2 separate regions of the Homo sapiens genome follow, and region 2 is linked to region 1. The links are contacts of gene promoters, found by promoter capture Hi-C in human tissues and cell types (Jung and others, 2019). All regions are on one chromosome and are shown on one strand. Each heading gives the region's core, a stretch centred on a gene start or on the middle of the fragment in contact. The rest is flanking DNA. Distances are from core to core; before and after follow the strand shown. Region 1 holds the start of SIX2 (SIX homeobox 2). Region 2 has its middle 33 kb from the start of SIX2.

The links. The method cuts DNA at HindIII sites, captures the fragments that hold promoters and counts their contacts. A contact is called where the count stands out against the background at its distance.
Region 2: a fragment that was not itself captured here is called in contact with the fragment with the promoter of SIX2 in region 1 in 1 of the 25 tissues and cell types used here (IMR-90 fibroblasts).

What each region holds. Positions count from the first base shown.
Region 1 is chr2:45,007,384-45,011,444 of GRCh38, forward strand. SIX2 (SIX homeobox 2) reads right to left here and starts at 2,069. Exons shown (of 2, transcript NM_016932.5): 1 at 1,168-2,069. The coding sequence starts at 1,727. RefSeq lists enhancers at 764-1,537, 2,542-3,141. The HindIII fragment of the contact is 8,583 bases long and covers 1-4,061 here.
Region 2 is chr2:45,040,649-45,044,709 of GRCh38, forward strand. No RefSeq gene overlaps it. Among named protein-coding and RNA genes, the nearest start is that of SIX2, 33 kb to the left of the region's middle. RefSeq lists enhancers at 1-115, 1-285. The HindIII fragment of the contact is 7,520 bases long and covers 1-4,061 here.

The DNA.
Region 1 (4,061 bases), core at 819-3,318:
TTGGATATTTAAAATCCTGGGTAGGATCTCTTGTCACCAGCTTCGGGAGGGTTTTTCTTTCTGCTTTCCTGGGAGGGAGCTTCCCACAGGGCTGGCAGCTGAGACCTCACCACTGTGGAAACTCCAACCTCAGGGTCTCAGATACCTGGAAGTATCTGAGCCTGCAGCACTCCCCCTAAGATGTTTCTGGTTCAGCACCCTCACCTCTGACCCTGATCATTCAAACTCAGGGTGGAACACACCCCATATCACCAACCCCAGGTGTCCTGTTTTGCTCTTACCCCGGGCTGGATTCTGTTCCCATAATAAGTTTCTCTCCAGGTTTGAGGTCCTGAGGGGTTATAGGGCAGGCAGTGGCAAGGGCCTAATGATCAACCTTTAGGCTGGTTCAGGAAGTCCTGGTTTACCTGAGGACATCCAACTCCCAGCCCCTCTGTGCCTCTCAGCTCACCGCAGACATTCCGACCTACCCATCAGAGGTAGGGCCTAAGGAGAGAGGCATCAAGGGCCTGGAGTGCCAGGGAAGGGCGGCTATCTCTAGCAAGGCAGAAAACAGGGCATGCGTCTCTTCTCTCCCAGAACTGACACTTCCTCCCTTTCACCTCTGGATCCTTTCTAAGGAGATAAAGGACCCGCTCTCAACTCCATGTGACAACGAAAATTCATGGCCTGGCTTTTCCCCATCCAGGTCATTCTAGGGAAGTTCCAGCCCCAGTCCCGACCCCATCACACTTTGGCCTGGAGCTAAGGCTGGGGGGAAATGCCGGGAAGCACCACCAGCAAGAAATCTGCAAATCCCCTTTCATCTGGGCTCAAACCCCTCTGTCCTGAGGATGACCAGACCTACTGTGCCTGCCTCACAGGGGATACAGGCCCACAGTTCTGCGCTGCCCCGAAGCTCTCTGCTTCTCCACCCTTTTCCTCTAGCGACCGAGTAGTTAGTTGACAACTTCCTGAATTGCTCTGCCCGCTTTAGACAAATCCCTGCTCGCCGGGTCTCCGGCATAGAAAGGCCTAAGCATCGTCCAAGTCAGGCCGGGCTGCCGCTGGGCTGTGGCCGGGCCTGGGGGCCCAGTTTAGGCCTCTCCGGGGGACCGGCAGAAGCCCTGCGAACCCCTCCCTTGGGCCCCGGGGAGCTGGCGCCGAAGAAGGTCTACTTACTCGTACCTTTCCTTGGCCTCGGCCGCCCGGTCGCGCTGCCGCCGGTTCTTGAACCAGTTGCTGACCTGTGTGGTGGTGAGGCCCGTGGCCTCCGCCAGCTCACGCTTCTCGCGGGGTGAAGGGTAGGGGTTGTGCGCGTACCACTCGCGCAGCACGCTGCGACTCTTTTCCTTGAAGCAGTAGCTGGTCTCCTCGCCGTCCCAGATGGAGCGCGGCAGCGGGAATTTGCGGCGCACGCGGTATTTGCCCACGGCGCCCAGGGGTCGGCCGCGCAGCTTCTCCGCCTCGATGTAGTGTGCCTTGAGCCACAGCTGCTGCAGCTTGGCGTGGTTGTGCGGCGAGAACTGGTGGCTCTCCAGGATCTTGTAGAGCTCGCGGAAGTTGCCGCGGTGGAAGGCCACCACGGCCTTGGCCTTGAGCACGCTTTCATTCTTGTGAAGGTGCTCGCAGGCGGGCAGCGACCACAGGAAGCGGCCCAGCCGCTCGATGTTGCCGCCCTGCTGCAGCACCTCGCACACGCACGCCACTTGCTCCTGCGTGAAGCCGAAGGTGGGCAGCATGGACATGGTGCCGGCTGCGTCCCCGCCCGCCCGCGCGCGCCCTCACCGGGCCGCGCGGTCCCGCATGGGAGCTTCCTCGCCGGGCCGTCCGGGCCGAGACGCGGGCGGGGCTGGCCCCCTGGCCCGGCACTGGCCCCCGGTGAGCCCCGAGTCACTGCCGTACGTCCCCGCGCCGGCCGCGGGTCCCACGAAGCTCCGAACCCCAACGGCCCGCGCGCCTGGCCCAAGCCCTCGCCCAAGCCCGGGGGCCGCCCGGGGCGCCGCTCCGCATGCTCCGCGCCCGCCCGCCGTTCCCTCGCTCGCTTCTCACTCGTTCTCCCTCCCGTCTAGCTGGCTCTCAGCTTTCTTAATAATATTATTCTAAGCGGGCATGAGGCGCGGCGGCCCGCGCCCTGATTGGTCCGGTTATCTGACCCGGGGCCTGCCAGCGCCAGACAATAGTCGGAGTCAAATTATTCGCCATGGAGACGCTGTCAGTCACTGGTAACCCGAGCCTCGGCGGGCCGGGCGGCTCCCCCCGGCCGGCTCCGCTGACAGATCGCCCCGCTCCGCGCAGAACTGAGGGCGGCTCTACTGGAGCCTGGGGCGCTCTGAGAGCCTGGGAGGCGGAGAGGGGCCGGGTTGGGGCCGGCGGCGGCGGAGATTGACGGGGCGGATGCCCAAAGAGGGAGGGAGGAGGAGGACAGGAGAGCGGGGGGAGCGGGCGAAGACGAAAAGGGGTGGATCGAGGTGGGGAGAGAAGAGGAGAGAAGGGAAGGCGGAGACCGTTTAAGGGGGTGTCCAGGAGGAAGGGGAGGGAGAGGGGTGGAAGGAGACTCCAGGGGAAGAAAGTTTGGGCAGCTTTGGCTAGGAGAGGGCTCTGCAGCCTCGCCCAGACCCTACAGGGTTCCCCTTCTCCCCAGGTCACCGCGTCCCTCCCAGGCTCTCTGTTCACCGGGCACATTCTACCCCGGCGCAGGCCAGTGGGATGGGAGAGTTTGGACGTGCTCGGGTGCCGCCCAAAGACTTGGCTTTTTCTGCTGACAGCGCCCCACCCCCATCCTAGAAACTCTGGACTCAGCGGTCCTCGAGGGAAAAGGGGAGGGAGTAGACGAAAGAAATGGGGAAGATTTGGCAGTGGCCGCAGGCGGACGCCGGAGAATCGACTTCCCGGAGGATCCCGCCTTTCCTCCCTCTCCTAGCCCCGCCGGCTGCCTGGCGGCCTGTACCGCCCCAACTCTGCGCTCTCTGCTCCTCGCCGGGCGGGGACTCAGACTTAACCCCACGGGTCCCACAGCCCGAGGAGCGCCAGGCAGTTCCGTGTGGCCTCTATGGAAGCTGACTCCGGCCGGCAGCTGCGACGCAGAACCCCGGACGGCGCAGACCCGCAGTCTGCCCACCGGGGCGGGGGAGAGGGGCGACGGCAGGGACTCTAGGACGGTGGTGGGGCTTCCCCGGTGGGTGGTCGGGGAGGAGAACGGAGGCAAGATTCCCAGTCCTCCCGCTTCGCCGCTGGGGATCGGCTCGGCTCCTGGCCACTCCAGCCTGGGAACCGGCTCGCTGAGCTCCGGGATGAGGTGCTTTAAAAGGGGGTCCTGTTTTTTGCTTCTTTGTCAGGGTGCCAATGGAAACATGTGGTGCTGGTCCTGTGGGAGAAGGGCTCGCACAAAGGTGGGAGAACTGAGGATGGGTGTGTTCTTGCTCTACGTTTTGAAAAGCCCGGGGCTTAGCTCCTTCCCGGACATGTCCTTTCCACTTCCTTCAGTTTCCTCCTCTTCCCCCCTCAGCTGCTGCAGGCCAGGAGCTCCTAGGGCCATACTCAGTGCCTGACCCAAGCCAGCACAAATCCTGGGCTCTGCCCTCAGCCAGTCTAGGGCTATGGAACCCGAGTCTAGGCCAGTTCCTTCTTTCCCACCCTTTTATGCTTTCTATGGAGTTTGTGCTAGGAGCGCGGAATGGGAGTCTAGAGCCCTGGGTTCAACTTTTGGTTTTGCTTGGTGTCTATGGTAAGGCATATATTTATGCCTTTGTGTTTATTTCCTTCTCTGCAAGATTTCAAAAATTTTCCCTGTGCTGCAGCATTCCGGAAGTCCTTTGGGAGTGTTGTAGGCATGAGAGAATGGAACCCTGGGACTCCTCTTAAGACTTTAGCTTCCAGGGGCCTACCCTGGCATGTTGAATGAGGCCACAGGGCTGACAAAGTAGGTCCCAAGCCAGTGCGGGTGCAGAAAGGGGAAGCTTTCTGCAGAAATCCAGGTGGCATCTTTAGAGTCTGTATCTGTGGGCTGGGAGGAGGTCTGCTGTGTCCAGGCCACCCTATCCAGAGTCCTATGCACTGCTGCACAGGGGCTGCCCCAGAGT
Region 2 (4,061 bases), core at 496-2,995, 33 kb after region 1:
CCAATGCATAGATTAATTGTGTGGATTTTCTGAGATAATCTATGCTTGGCATGCATTACATTCTGAAAAAAACAAAACAAAACAAAACAAAACGATTAGCTGCTGTTATATTATTATTTGAGTTTAAAGGGTTGCAAGCAGGCTCCCTGGAACTGGGAGCTCCCATTTACCATGCTTGGTGTAGCACACTGATAACAAACACAGATGATAAAGGGGGCTAGACTGATTTTTTAAGTGGCCTTTTGACATGCAGTGGAAGGCACTTGACCTCTGACAGCAGATTAATTTCTAGAACAGAGTCCCAGGCTTGGTGTCCCTTCTGGATTATCCAGCTATTTACATCACAAAGGGGAGTCATGTGGGTGTGCCAGCTCTGTGGATTGGAGCAGAGTCTGAACTGATGAGGTCAATGTTTGAGCATACAAACTGAAGAAGTTCTTTCCAGGCCATAGACTGCATACCCTTTTTAGCCATCCAGTATGTGCAGTGAGGATGCAGTCAATGGCCTGGAAGAGTATTTCTCACCTGGGGGAGAGTGTGGTTGGCTCCATGGAACCCCTTGCCACTGCTGGAAAGAGTCCAGAATGTTTGCTCCTAGCTGAGTGTTTGGCAGGGGTTGTTAGTCCACTGGGGTTTCAGGTACTGAGGTGTCTGGGGTATGAGACTTGGAGATAGTGTCAGAGAATTTTGCTGCTGGTAATAAAATAAAACTCCAAGTAGATTTAGCTCTGGAAGGGCTTTCTTGATGTGGGAAAAACAACTGGGACCAAATGGCCCTTGTGTGTCAATGCTAGTCATTCTTGGGGCTTGCCACTACCCACCCCACTGCCACCCCTTGGCTCCCACTACCTTCTTAGGCCCAGTAGCTGAGGTTGCTATTTTATTCTTTTTTTTCCTCTTTTTCTGGGACAGGGTCTTGCTCTGTTGCTCAGGCTGGAGTGCAGTGACACGATCATGGCTCATTGCAGCTTGGAACTCTGGGCCTCAAATGATGTTCCCATGGCAGCCTCCTGAGTAGCTGGGACTACAGGTGTGTGCTACCGTGCCTGGCTTCTTTTTTTTTTTTTTTTTGAGTAGAGACAGGATCTTACTATGCTGCTCAGGCTGATCTCAAACTCCTGGGCTCAAGCAATCCTCTCGCTTTGGCCTCCCAATGTGCTGGGATTACAGGCATGCCCCACCGCACCCAGCCTGTGGCTGCGCTTTCAATGCCCCAGTCCAACTGGGCACAAACCCTTTGTCTTATCTCCCTTTAGCTCAGATGTGGCAGCTGGAATTTCTCAAAATCTGGAAATCTTAAGGGAGGACCCAGAAAATAAGAGTAGAAGAAGAGTAAAAACCAGGCTGGCTTCAAGAGAACAGAGACCTCCTGCCCACCTGTTTTATTCCCAGAGGGTCCCAAGAAGAGATTTATTTCTCCCTTCTTGTCCCAAAGGGTTGGGCCACCTCTGCAGGCACTTGCTGGCTTTCCTTCTTAGCTTCCTCTGGGCTTTCTCCAGGGAGTGGGCGCTAAATCACCATCCCTACCCAGGTAGCCTCTCCTACACAGCTTAGCCCTCCTTAGTTCTCCCTTAATATGCAAGGCTGGAAGGACCCCAGGAAAAACCTCAGGTCTTCAGAGGAGGCTTTGTCTGCCACAGACTGGAAGCAATGCCGGCTTCATGCAGGTCTGCAGTTGAGGCAGCAACTATCTAAGTGTTACCCACCAAGTCCAGAGGGCTGTTTTCTCACAGAGGTTTTAGGTACATGTTTCTTTCATTGGAAAACTAAAATTCAAATGTGGTTAAATGACATGCCCAAGGTCACTGATTGATTCTGAAATTACGGTTCAATTCATGTCCCCTGATGGCAAGCCTTGTTCTCTTTACCTTATACACACACCCTGAGATTGTATTGTTTCATGCCTGCCTTCCCCACTTCTCTCTCCTCTCCTCCCCCAGAATTCACTGTCCCATGACCAAAGTCCTTGGAGCTATTTTGATTTACAGATGAAGGAAACATTTACAGAAACTCAGTGGACACTCAATAAGTCTCAGTTGAATGACATTGACAGAAAGAGTTGTTGATAATCGTAGAGATAATAATGCAACTAAATGATCCATTTTAAAGGGGAAAAAGTCTTTCTGAAAAGGAATAGACAGCAGTGATTTAAAATCTGATGACTCTGTGGTCCCAGGGTAATTTTTCATGGCGTTACATTCTGGCTTCCACAGTGCTTTTGGTAAGGGGACATACCTATTTCACAAGAGTGGAGGATAACATAATAATTAATATTAAACATTTTTCTTTGAAGGTTCTGCAATTGAGTAACAAAAACCAGCAAAGCTTTAGTATGAGAAGCCAGGGAATCATGGCCATAGGAATAACATTCATATTAAATTGATTTAAATGACAGCCTCAAATACAATGCGATTAAAAGAAATACAACAAACATGTGGTGGAGTTTAGAGCATCTGGGTCTGTTTAAATTGCTCTTGTTTTTCAAGATCAAGGGTATTATTGATAAAAACAAAAATCTTTGTAATCACTAAATTTAATCCAACTAACGATGATGAGAAGACCGTTGTAAACATGAAACATAACTTGGGAACTAAATCTTACATATTTTCCTTTTTGGGAAAGGCATGCTTTCAGTCACTTGCACTGGAGAACGCTGCAGGACCAGCAAGGCAGGGTTTATGGGCTAATCAGTTGCCAGAGAGACAGCCCCAACCAGCCGGCACTTCAGAAGGTTGGAACTGTTAGCCACAGCAACGCTGAACAGCAGCAGGGAATTACCTCTGGTCTCATAAAACCTGTAGGAGGAAAAGAAGCAATTGTGCATCTTCCTTCCTTCCTTCCTTCCTCCCTCCCTCCCTCCCTCCCTCCCTCCCTCCCTCCCTCTGTCCCTCCGTCCCTCCCTCTCTGCTTTCTTCCTTCCTTACTGTCTCTTCTTTCTTCCTTTCCTTCCTTACTCTCTCTTCTTCCTTTCCTTTCTCTTTCCTTTCCATTTGCTGAGGCTGGGCTCACATGCTCCTACTGCTTCAGCCTGCCGAGTAGCTGGGACTATAGGCATGCACCACCACACCCAGCTTCAACCTCAGTATTTCCTACATTTTTCCTTTGCATCCACAGCAAATCTGACCAGTCTTTTCTGAACCTCATATCCCAACACGACCACAACTTCCCTGAAACTTCAAAGCATTGTGTTTGCTCCTCTTTGACACACACATCTGTTCAGCTTTGTACTGACTTAGTTGTGTTTCTTACATCCTATTTAGATAATACCCTCCTTGAAGTCAAGGGCTTTCTTACTCTTTCTTTACTTTTTACCTCTGCAAATCTTGCACAGGGTCTCACAGTGATAAGTGCTCAAATTGCACACTTGTTGGATTAACTTGGATACCAGACTCCAAGTGCAATGCATTGAGATGAGCTGAACTGGTCCCTGCCACTGCTTCTGGTTTGGGGGTCCCCATTAGACCTGGCTCCCAATCTCTGGAGAGGCCTGAGGAACAGGAAGATGAACCTTAGGTTCTGTTGGTTGTAAGAAACAGAGACTCACTCAAGTAACTACAGGAGAAGGGAGGATGGCCCAGACCAGAATGTGATGTAGAACCAAGGAAGCTGGCATAGAGTTTTCTCCCATAGGTGGCCTGGTCTATTTGTATCCCCATGTTTCTGCTGCTTTTTGTGTGTTTTTTCCATTCTCCTTCTGGTAATTCTTTGAGTCTAGCTTCTGTTTACTTATAATTTCTGTTCCTATGTAACTTTGGCTTTTACTAGATTATCATGGCTTCTCTGGTTTCTTCATCCATTACAAATGTTCTGTTTTAGCCTCTTTGGTGATTACATCCTTCACTTGGCATACCTTGGTTCAAATGCCTTGGAAAGAGACTAGGATGGGCACAGCTCATCTTTGGGATTGACTGCCCTTGATCTAGGTGTCTGCCTCTGGTCCAATCAGCAATTCCAGGGCTCAAGATGTGGAAAGGGCAGGTCATTCATTGCAAAACCATAGCTCCTTAAAGATTATGCATAACACAAGTAACTTCTGTCAGAACAGCATTGAAGGTGTGGCA